3 separate regions of the Homo sapiens genome follow, and all the other regions are linked to region 2. Evidence: promoter capture Hi-C in human tissues and cell types (Jung and others, 2019). All regions are on one chromosome and are shown on one strand. Each heading gives the region's core, a stretch centred on a gene start or on the middle of the fragment in contact. The rest is flanking DNA. Distances are from core to core; before and after follow the strand shown. Region 1 overlaps TLL1 (tolloid like 1). Region 2 holds the start of TLL1 (tolloid like 1). Region 3 has its middle 64 kb from the start of TLL1.

Evidence for each region. Contacts are between HindIII fragments. The study calls those that stand out against the background at their distance.
Region 1: a contact is called between a fragment that was not itself captured here and the fragment with the promoter of TLL1 in region 2, in 1 of the 25 tissues and cell types used here (dorsolateral prefrontal cortex).
Region 3: a fragment that was not itself captured here is called in contact with the fragment with the promoter of TLL1 in region 2 in 2 of the 25 tissues and cell types used here (heart left ventricle and hippocampus).

The regions. Positions count from the first base shown.
Region 1 is chr4:165,930,811-165,934,127 of GRCh38, forward strand. The region is part of intron 1 of TLL1 (tolloid like 1); the gene reads left to right. Among named protein-coding and RNA genes, the nearest start is that of TLL1, 59 kb to the left of the region's middle. The HindIII fragment of the contact is 5,422 bases long and covers 1-3,317 here.
Region 2 is chr4:165,871,214-165,874,806 of GRCh38, forward strand. TLL1 (tolloid like 1) reads left to right here and starts at 2,024. Exons shown (of 21, transcript NM_012464.5): 1 at 2,024-2,860. The coding sequence starts at 2,692. The HindIII fragment of the contact is 12,105 bases long and covers 871-3,593 here.
Region 3 is chr4:165,807,595-165,811,100 of GRCh38, forward strand. No RefSeq gene overlaps it. Among named protein-coding and RNA genes, the nearest start is that of TLL1, 64 kb to the right of the region's middle. The HindIII fragment of the contact is 4,870 bases long and covers 1-3,506 here.

The sequences.
Region 1 (3,317 bases), core at 605-3,104, 59 kb after region 2:
TTTAAATAATGTCAAAAGAAACACTTCTTGTAATTTATAAGCACTCCAGAAAAAAACATATGCATATATGTAGTATAGTGACTGTAAAGTGATCTTGAATAGTATGTTATTGGTTGTGTTAGGGAAATGAATAAATAACAATAACAATAGCAAATGCTTCTAAAGTGCTCCTTGGGTGTCAAGCACTGTTCTAAGTAATTTTACATTTCTTTTTTCAGCAACCATTTAAAGTAGGATAATTGTTACCTCTCTTTCATAGATTATGTGTTTTGTTGTTGTAAATAAAGTTGAAGAATAGGTAAGAAAAACAACTTATAAAATATCATTTGTAATTTATTTCATAGGTTTATGGACACAACAATAATTATATTTATTGAGATCATAAAGCCAAGGCATTCGACTATATTCCATAATTAAAGCATTAAAAATGATAGAGAATAGTTTTAATAGCATAGGAGAGTTATCTTGAATAGGAATTTGATAGTTTTCAGTTCTGAGCTTAATTTAATTTTCTCAAGCTTCTTCTATGCCTAATTTAACTTTATACAGTTAGGTTTCTTTTGGGTTTACTTTTCTCATCCTTTAAAGTTAAAAACATTCAGCTGTGATTAGAAATTGCAGTGATTGGCCAGGCGTGGTCATTCACACCTGTAATCCCAGCACTTTGGGAGGCCAAGGCGGGCGGATCACGAGGTCAGGAGATTGAGACCTCCTGGCCAACACGGTGAAACCCCGTCTCTACTAAAAATACAAAAAAAATTAGCCGGGTGTGGTGGTGGGCACCTGTAGTCCCAGCTACTTGGGAGGCTGAGGCAGGAGAGTGGCGTGAACCAGGGAGGTGGAGCTTGCAGTGAGCTGAGATTGCACCACTGCACTCCAGCCTGGGCGACAGAGTAAGACTCTGTCTCAAAAGAAAAAAAAAAGAAATTGCAATGATTAACTTCAGATACTGCACGGGGTAGTTCTCCATTGAGCAGCTCATTTCACGATACCACACTTGCACTAAGAGAAAGTGCCCTGAGGCAAAGACAAATTCTTAGCAGGTGGCTTGATAATTGATAAGCAGATGTATGGCATTTAGTAGTAAAGTAGAAGCTATGCTAAGTTGATTAGCAAGGAGGTCAGGCGAGTGACTCAGAATTTGGTTGTGAGTAGAAGCCCTAGTGGGGACTTTCCTTTGCTGGAAAGCCAGGTGATGGTTGGACAAGTAGGTGATAAGCAGATGTTTGCAGTTCCGTATGTCACACCACTTCTTCGCCTACTCTGGAATTTGTCTTGAGAAAGCACAAAGGATACAATAAAAAGAGGTGAGAAGCAAAGGTAAGAAACACCACCAGAGACATTCAAAATCAGAAGGTCTCCTAGTTAGGCAGTCCACACTTACGAGATTCACCCTATTCTGCTTTTATGAACCCAAGCACTGCTGTTTCAGCTATTTGACATGTATTATATGCTTTTAACTCTGAAAACGCTGTGTGACTTGTTCCACATAGCACCATCTCTTCCAGGTTGTTTCTTTATACTGAGCGTTTCTCAGTTGATTAAAAAATGTTGTGTGAACAGGAAGTATTTCTAATAGAAAGTATTCCTCATTCCTGATTAATACCATTTTTGCAAAGTTCTACCACTGTAACTGTTTACATCAAGGCAAAAGGCAGGCTAGTGAATAAGGATGACTTATAAATCCTTCAGACTGGGAATGCCTATCAGCATCTGCAGTAACTGTGCGTAACTGAGGATGGAGCTCAGTCATGGGGCTAGAAATGAAGACAGAATGGGAAGTTAGTACTGCTTTTAACTGGACGTTCTGATATTTAAGCTTCAGATTTTCTTCTTTTTTTTTTTAGAGTTTGTTTGTAATCTGTTGTTATTGAAGAGATTTGGAATTTCTTGTCAGAAAAGTGTTTAAAACATCACTTAAAGTCAGTTGCATTCCTTGTTTGCTTGACTCTGCAAAAAAGGCCTTCTATTTTATATGCATTGATTTGACCATTTAAACTTCCTCCGAGACAATAAACTTGCTGAACTGTGGAATAAATTGTGATATTGAATTGTTCAATGTATGGAAAAGAGCTGTTAAAGCTGCAGTGTAAATTCCAGTTGGATATAATACCACTCTCATCAACTATACATAAGACACTTATGTTACCGGGGTACATTTACAGCTTCCGATTAGAAAGTTAAAACATCTTTAAGTATATGAACTTTCTCAAAATATTCTTGCATGAGACATCACAATTTTATACTGTACTATATGTGCAAAACCAATACTCTAGCCTATCACATGTATTTTTCAAGCCTACTTTGTTTGCTGCTGGTGGTGTTGATTGCAGTAATGGGTACTTAAAGCATCAAGTTATCTCTGCCTCATTCTGCATAATTGTTCAGTGGATTCACTTCCCTGTCAGATCAATCTCCCCCCATACACTCCCTGAGATGTTATCTGGGTACATAGAGCCCAGTGTTGTCCTGTGACATCATGGTCTTGTGGGGAGAGGACGCCTCAGATCTGAGTGTTGTTCCCCAGGTTCTCTCTGGCCTCCCCTGGGAGGCAATGATTCCGGTGTTGTGCCCGTACAGTTCACTATGGAAATCAGGGATGATGGGTGTGTGTCTCAGCTGAGGCAGACTGCACAGACCGTCATCATCATGGCGCATCTCGAGGTCTGCAGTCCATTCCATCCTGGCAGCCTGTCCATCAGCTATTAATTTCAGAACCACTTTGACTCTGTTGCAGTGACCATCCTTGGAAATTTTATCCAGCCATATCAGGTACCTTCTGCCTCTTGCACAGGACTTAGAGAAGTATCCCAAATGTCATCTTTGCCCATGGGAATTGAGGAGGGCCTGGGAGTGCTAGCGTGGATGGCTTCTTACCTAGAATAGCAGCCCTGTCTTTTTATTCTGACAGGACCACACCACCTCAGAGCAGGTCCGCTCCACAGACACTTCCCTCCCAGATTTTCAAGCACTCTCCACTTCTGCTTTTCTTCCAGTATGTCCGAGCAGCTCCCCTCCACTGCAACCTTCACCATTTCAACACTTGATGTGGGAGCTGGGACACATTTGAATGAGTCCTCTGCTGCTCCTCTTATCCCTCAAATTGTTATGAACTCCTTTTAGTTCTCCTTTCTGTTTTACTGGAAATTCCTCTGTGTCTCATCCACCTTCCACTGGTGACGTTCATCCTCTCTTTCTTTTTTTTGAGATGGAGTTTTGCTCTTATTGCCCAGGCTGGAGTGCAATGTCACGATCTTGGCTCACTGCAACCTCTGCCTCCCAGGTTCAAGTGATTCTCCTGCCTCAGCCTCCCGAGT
Region 2 (3,593 bases), core at 774-3,273:
TCAGGGATTAAGCCTGGGTATTGTGATGTAGGTATTCTCTGCAAGTATATTAGCTGTAAAGAAACATTCCTGTATTTTGACTTGAAGTTCTACTATGAAAATCATTCTAACTCTCTGGACTACAAATTCATAAAATTATAAAACCAAATAATGAAACACATGTTAAAAGTAATAGGTGTCATTATACATAATGAAGCTATTATCCCTATACAGTACTTTTTTTCCCAGAACAAATGAATAAAACATATTTATTCCTGCAAAGTAAGTGATGTTTAGGCAAACCACAGGTAAAACTTCTTGCAAATTTACACATGATAAAATAGTCTAAGGAGATGTTTGCAGGCATTTAGATTAACAAGGGACATTTTTAAGGTTTGGGATAGGGAATGGGAACACTGTCAGCAGCTCAAGAGCAGGAATCCTCTAGATGACATATGCATTCTCTAGGCTTTCAGATGGGCTAAGCAGGACATATTCTTGTTGAGCTCTGCACTAGGGCAACACTATTATTAATTATGCAAACTTTTTTTTTTTTGGATGGGTAAGAGAATTTGAGAATGACTCAGCAAGAGATTTCAAAATCAAACGCCTCTACCTGCTTATTGAACATGTTCTTTTTAAAAATCTACTTCTGCTCTGTATCCTGGGCATTAAAAGCTTAAGATCTATGGAAGGGAAGCTCCATCATTGCAGTGGCCTCTGAGAAAGACCCAGTTTTGCAAAGAACACTTGGTCAGTTCAGTTCCACCTAGCCTTCCTATACTTTTAGTTTAAGTTGAAAATACTTGGTACTTTTTCAAGATTGGCTTCTTACTTTTCTCTAACAAACATGAATAAAACCTAGTAAAATCTCCAAACCAAAGATGACTTTATCTGTCAAAGTTGTGTGTGTGTGTGTGTGTGTGTGTGTGTGTGTGTGTGTGTGTTTACCTTCATACATTCCTCTAGATGATAACTTGGATAGGGGGAACACTAGTCAAATAATATGTAAGGCTTTTTTTTTTTTTACAAGTCCTTGCTAAAGTGACAGTTTTAAAGATTTAGTTGGAAAAGGAAAGCTCCCAATCACCAGTCCCTTGGAAGCTTGTTGGGGGAGAAGTCATCTCACCTATTTTGGAAACTACTTGCAGATGTGGGGAAACCTCGGAATTGCTCACAACAGGGGTTTTACAGAGATTTCCTCTGATTTTTTTCCTCCCCAATTTCCCACAACCTGTGTTTGTCTTGAGTCTGCTCGGCTGACATGTGGTTTACCTCGCTGACCCTCCTGCCAGGTTTTACACCCTCTCCTCTGAAGAAGTAAAACATTACTGAAGCCGAAGGATACTGAGCAACTCTGCTCATGGGCGCCAGAACTGTCACAGAAAATTTGCTTCCCGAGTATTCCATCCAGCTTCCCTTCCTGCGCCCACGTGAGCCATAGCGCCAGCCCATCGGCAAGGTCTCAGCGTTTCCTGCTGCTGCAATCTGTAACTCGATTTTGGATTTTTTTTTTAATTGCAGTTCTGAGGATCTTAGTTCTTAGCAAAACTTTGTTGGTTAGGAGACCAACAGTAGTCTGTTTATTTTCTTACCAAAATCGTGAAGACTCGCACACTTTTCCTCCATTCCTGCGCTGCTCTAAGGTTAAACAGCAGCAAAGGAAAGAAATACACACTCGCTGTTTATTTGGGGGGAGGGGAAATATGGATTTGCAGCTAAGTTATCACGATCCTTCGCTCCACCCCCGGTCTGGCACTCTCAACTGACACGTACATCATCTATTAATTGCTGTTTGCGTACACAGATACATAATATATTCATTTTTATCTTTGGTAAAATATAAATGGAATTGTCAGCGCGCTCCTGTCTGTTTGTTTGTCTAAGGCTATCAAAAGAAGTCAAGAGAGGAGGCTGTGGTCCGGATCCTGACCCTGATTGTATGAATAAGTAAGCAGGATGCAAGTGATTGGGTTAGATGGTGCGAATATTTTTTTTTTTCAAGTTAGGAAGAGGGTAAAAAGACAGGCTGGCGGGGGGAAGGCAAACAGTGCATCCCCAAATCCTCACACTTTTGCTCTCTTGCAGTCAGTTGCTTTGCTGGCTTCTGCAGGCTTTTAAGGTCTCGCGGCGTAGAAATGCCTGGCCCCCACCCCCTTCCTCGGTCTCCCCTTTCAATTCAGATGTGCTGATGTGCAGACCGGATTCATCTTCTCGGAGCTGCGGCGGCGGCTTTGGGCTCAGGCGGCGGCGGCTCGCGCTCGGCCGCGGAGTCCTGGCAGCAGCGGGGACGCGGCGCGGGAGTCCGAGCTCTGGTGGCAGCTGAGCCCGCGGGGCGCCGCTCGCCGAGCCGCGGCCGCGGGAAGTTCGGCAGCCAGAAGGACGACCTGGCAGGCTGCGAGCGCCAGCGCCGCCAGAGCCGAGTTTGCCTGCGCCCTCCCCGCCTCCGAGTGCAGAGTTCCTTACCTGCCCTCCGCCCACCCGTGGGCCCCTAGCCAACTTCTCCCTGCGACTGGGGGTAACAGGCAGTGCTTGCCCTCTCTACTGTCCCGGCGGCATCCACATGTTTCCGGACACCTGAGCACCCCGGTCCCGCCGAGGAGCCTCCGGGTGGGGAGAAGAGCACCGGTGCCCCTAGCCCCGCACATCAGCGCGGACCGCGGCTGCCTAACCTCTGGGTCCCGTCCCCTCCTTTTCCTCCGGGGGAGGAGGATGGGGTTGGGAACGCTTTCCCCGAGGATGCTCGTGTGGCTGGTGGCCTCGGGGATTGTTTTCTACGGGGAGCTATGGGTCTGCGCTGGCCTCGATTATGATTACACTTTTGATGGGAACGAAGAGGATAAAACAGAGACTATAGATTACAAGGACCCGTGTAAAGCCGGTAAGTGGCTCTCCAGGTTGGGACGGTGGCGCGCCGGGGGCCGCTGCGCTGGGTTTCCCATGGGTGGCGGTGGGAGCTCACCTGTTTCCTTCCCTCCCGCGTCAGCCCCTCCGCCGCCCCTCCTTCTCTCCCCCTCCTTTTCCTTCCCTTCCCCACCCGCAAGTGGCAGCCGCTGCGGCCCCAGTTGACTAGAGTTCTGTGCCAGTGGGATCCACTGCCAAGCTCCCATCTCCCAGTTTGGGAATAAGGTCCTAGAGTTTCTGATCCCTCTCCCCTCCCCCAGCAAAACGAAACAAGTCGTAAATATAGCTTGCTGCTGTAGGTTTTAAATTCCAACACTCAGCGGGCTTTATGCATATGGAAGGGACACCGTCTTCTTTCCCCTCTCCCCCAGGGCGCGGTTTCCCAGCGCTTGTTCGAGAGCGAGTTGGCAGGGTTCCCCAAAAGATACAGGAGGATGGCATTGCTACCTGGAGACACCTTGGCTCCCTCTTTTACCAGGAATTTCAAGTGTGGGTTCCAGGCTAGAAAGGGATTGTGACAATCTCGGAAGAACTCACTTCTAGATGGGATTCTGATGCATTTGCCCATTTAAAATAAACTGAAAAGAAAAATGTTTTTAAGTTGCTACCCCATTCAAATTTGTGTCTTCCTTCCAGCTAACACCCCAGGGAAATGCAGTCGGACCGGCACTGCCTGAAGCTCAGCTTCTTGCCTCGCAGGGTCCCTGAAT
Region 3 (3,506 bases), core at 498-2,997, 64 kb before region 2:
TAATACAAATTATTTGGGTCCCTAGAAATGCAAATTAAGTGGGTCTTCACAGAATGCAATTGATTAGGACATTTTGCATCCACTTGAAAGTGCATTTTAACACTCCTTACTTGTGTATGCATGTATGTGTGGTTCTTTGAATTTTCCTTTGAACTGGCTATATCACCTCATTAGTTCCTCATTAATGATTGAGTAAAATAAATACATTGATGTACTTATTTTATGTACACATAAGGGTCATAATTTTGTCTTTAAAAAACATTTTCTAACATATGTTTGTATAATTTTCTAGTAAATTTTATTTTGAATACAGGTTTGCTTGGCTAAAACACATTTGAAAAAATAATGGAAACTATTTCATGACTTGCAACTTGCTTACAAAACAAGTTAAATGAAAAAGTAGGTCATAAAAGAGAATGTGCAGCATTAACTCATTTTTGCCTTACATTTTTTACAAATTTATCTCTCATCTCTGTCTCCTGAATGCTGCTTTGGGCTTTTCCAACAGTTCTGTGTTTTTGTAGCAAATCTCCTTAATTGACTTCATACTGAGTGTGCATAGAAGCTTTCCCCTTAAATTTTTGAAAACTCAACTCACACTAAGCTTAGAATTTAATAAAATGTTATTGAAGACCTTGAGGAAAACAGAGTGGAATTAAAATGCAAAGAAAAGGAGACAATTCTAAATGCTAAGTATTCTATATCATTCTTGTCCATCAAGATTGATGCTCCAGAGATGTCCATCATTCATCATTGGCCTTTTGTATTCCTAGCTGTGTCATGATGCAAAGTTGAAGAAGCTACCCTACTTCCAGTAATCTAAAATGAGAAAATGCTGCTGTGTTAGGCTGTTCTTGCACTGCTGTAAAGAAGTACCTGAGATTGGGTGATATGGTTTTACTGTGTCCCCACCCAAATTTCAACTTGAATTGTATCGCCCAGAATTCCCACTTGTTGTGGGAGGGATCCAGGGGGAGGTAATTGATTCATGGGGGCTGGTCTTTCCCGTGCTATTCTTGTGGTAGTGAATAAGTCTCACGAGATCTGATGGATTTATCAGGGGTTTCCACTTTTGCTTCTTCCTCATTTTCTCCTGCTGCCACCATGTAAGCAGTGCCTTTCACCTCCTGCCAGGATTCTAAGGCCTCCCCAGCCATGTGGAACTGTAAGTCCAATTAAACCTCTTTTTCTTCCTAGTCTCCAGTATGTCTTTGTCAGCAGCATGAAAACGGGTTAATACACTGGGTAATTTATAGAGAAAGGAGGTTTAATTGGCTCACAGTTCTGCAGGCTGTATAAGTAGGAAGCACAGTGCTGGCACATTCTGGGCTTCTGGGGAGGCCTTAGGGAACTTACAATCATGGCAGAAGGCAAAATGGGAGCAGGCATGTCACATGGCAGGAGCGAGAGCAAGTGAGAAAGTGACACACACTTTTAAACAACCAGATCTCATGAGAACTCACTCACTATCATAATGACAGCGCCAAGCCATGAGAGATCTGCTGCCATGATCCAATCACCTCCCACCAGGCCCCACCTACGATATTTGTGATTACATTTTAATGTGAGATTTGGTAGGGACACAGATCAAAGCCATATCAGTTGCCTTCATAATAATCTCAACAAAAATCCAATTTTGTCCCTAAAGAACAAGTCACTTAACATTTCACTTAGAAGCATCTACATTTAGATTCCTTTATCGTTGCAATATTAGAAAGAGGCCAACCATACATCTTCCTGTCTAATCTGCTTGAGAACCAGGGGAGATAGAGCCTAAAACACCAAGCCCATCTTTCACCCTAAGAAGAAACAGTGTATGGACTCCCCAAATGGAATCCTTTATAATGTCTAATCTCCACATACCACATTTAGCAACAAGGTAGAAATTTTTGACAATATAAAAAATAGCAGCTTCTCAATGTTACATATATTTTCCCTGTTTTCTTCAAGACAATAATAATAGTAATAATAATGAATAATAAGAAAGGAACAGTAAGTACTATAATGATAATAATGATTGTAATGGCAACAAATAATTTAATAAAATAAAAGTGAAAAAGTTATCTAAATTAAAGGATTTGAGTGATGCTGTAAAGGTTTCCATTTTAACAAAACATGATATTTAGTGAAAATTAATTAGTTTTTATTATTTTTTACAGTAATTTTATTACCCATTAAAGTACAAAGCTTGGCCACCAAGCCATCTGATGGGCATCTCAACTGAATAAATTCACAAATAAAAATAAAATCCACATTCATTTATTACTATTTGGTTTTCTAGACAAATTATTTTCCAAACAGTTTTTGTCTTAGGCCTTGAAGAGAAAACACGGTGAGACTACCAGGGTGATGGTTGTCTCTCAGCTCATCAGATTAGATATGGCATAGATAATCTGTGTCCATTTAAATTTTGCTAACGTATTAGAGATTTCATTAAAATGCTTTGATGTGTTGAGATCTTAACATATTTTGAAGTCATAAAATCACACACACACATACATACACACACACTCTTTTTTAAGTGCTTTCCAGTGTCTATCTAATTTATTATTATTATTATCATTATTTATTGTGGCACAGTGGTCCCAAGGTTGTGTTTAATCCTTTCAGATCTACTTAAGTTCTCTAAGTGGCAGTAGACAATCATTGGTTTTCCTGATCACATCCATAACTCATCTTTCTCAATTCAAATAGACAATAATTTAATTATTTTATTCATTGTGTGAGTTTCCTTTATAATTTGCTTCATGTACAGGTTGGAAATATTTAGCATATCCTACTGAGAAGATACAGCCTTTGGGAAACCATTGGCAGAAATGAATAGTTGTCTTTGTTACTTAGAAGTATTGTCCTCTGGAAAAACTGAAGGGTCTAGAGCAGTGCTGAGAAATATCTTTTAGTTCTAAGTATCACTTTAAATTAATAGACAGTGAATAAAATTAAATCAGTAGCAGGCTTACAAAGTAAAGAATTTAGCCAGATTTTTTTTTAATCTTAAGAGAAAAAGTAATTTGAGTTTTTAAAGAGTTGTATGAGCAGTTTAAGTTTTGGTCCTTGTCTGGGGAAGGCAAACATAGTGTCAGATTTTGTTATTCTTATTTTTAAAATTGAACGATAGCAAATGAGAATTTGCTGCAATAAGATGATTGAGTACATATTAAGTATGTATTAAGACCTCCTTATATATTTGATTTCTATTGTCTTCTTGCCTGGTGAGAGAGAGAGTATGTCTCTGTGTGTGTAATACACACATACACACACACACACACACACAGAAGATTACTGTGATATATGAAATCCAATTCCTCATCAGAAAAGTAATAAATCTGAAGAGAATTTAATTGATTCACCCTCAAACCATCCTCGGAATTTACTATGAGACAATCAGTTCTAAGCGTAGTGCTTTTCATCATACTTGTATTTATTCATGCAACCTGTTTTTTATTTAATCTCCACTTCAGGAGCAGAAAATCTTCTCTAACCTTAGACTACTATTCTTTCACTCC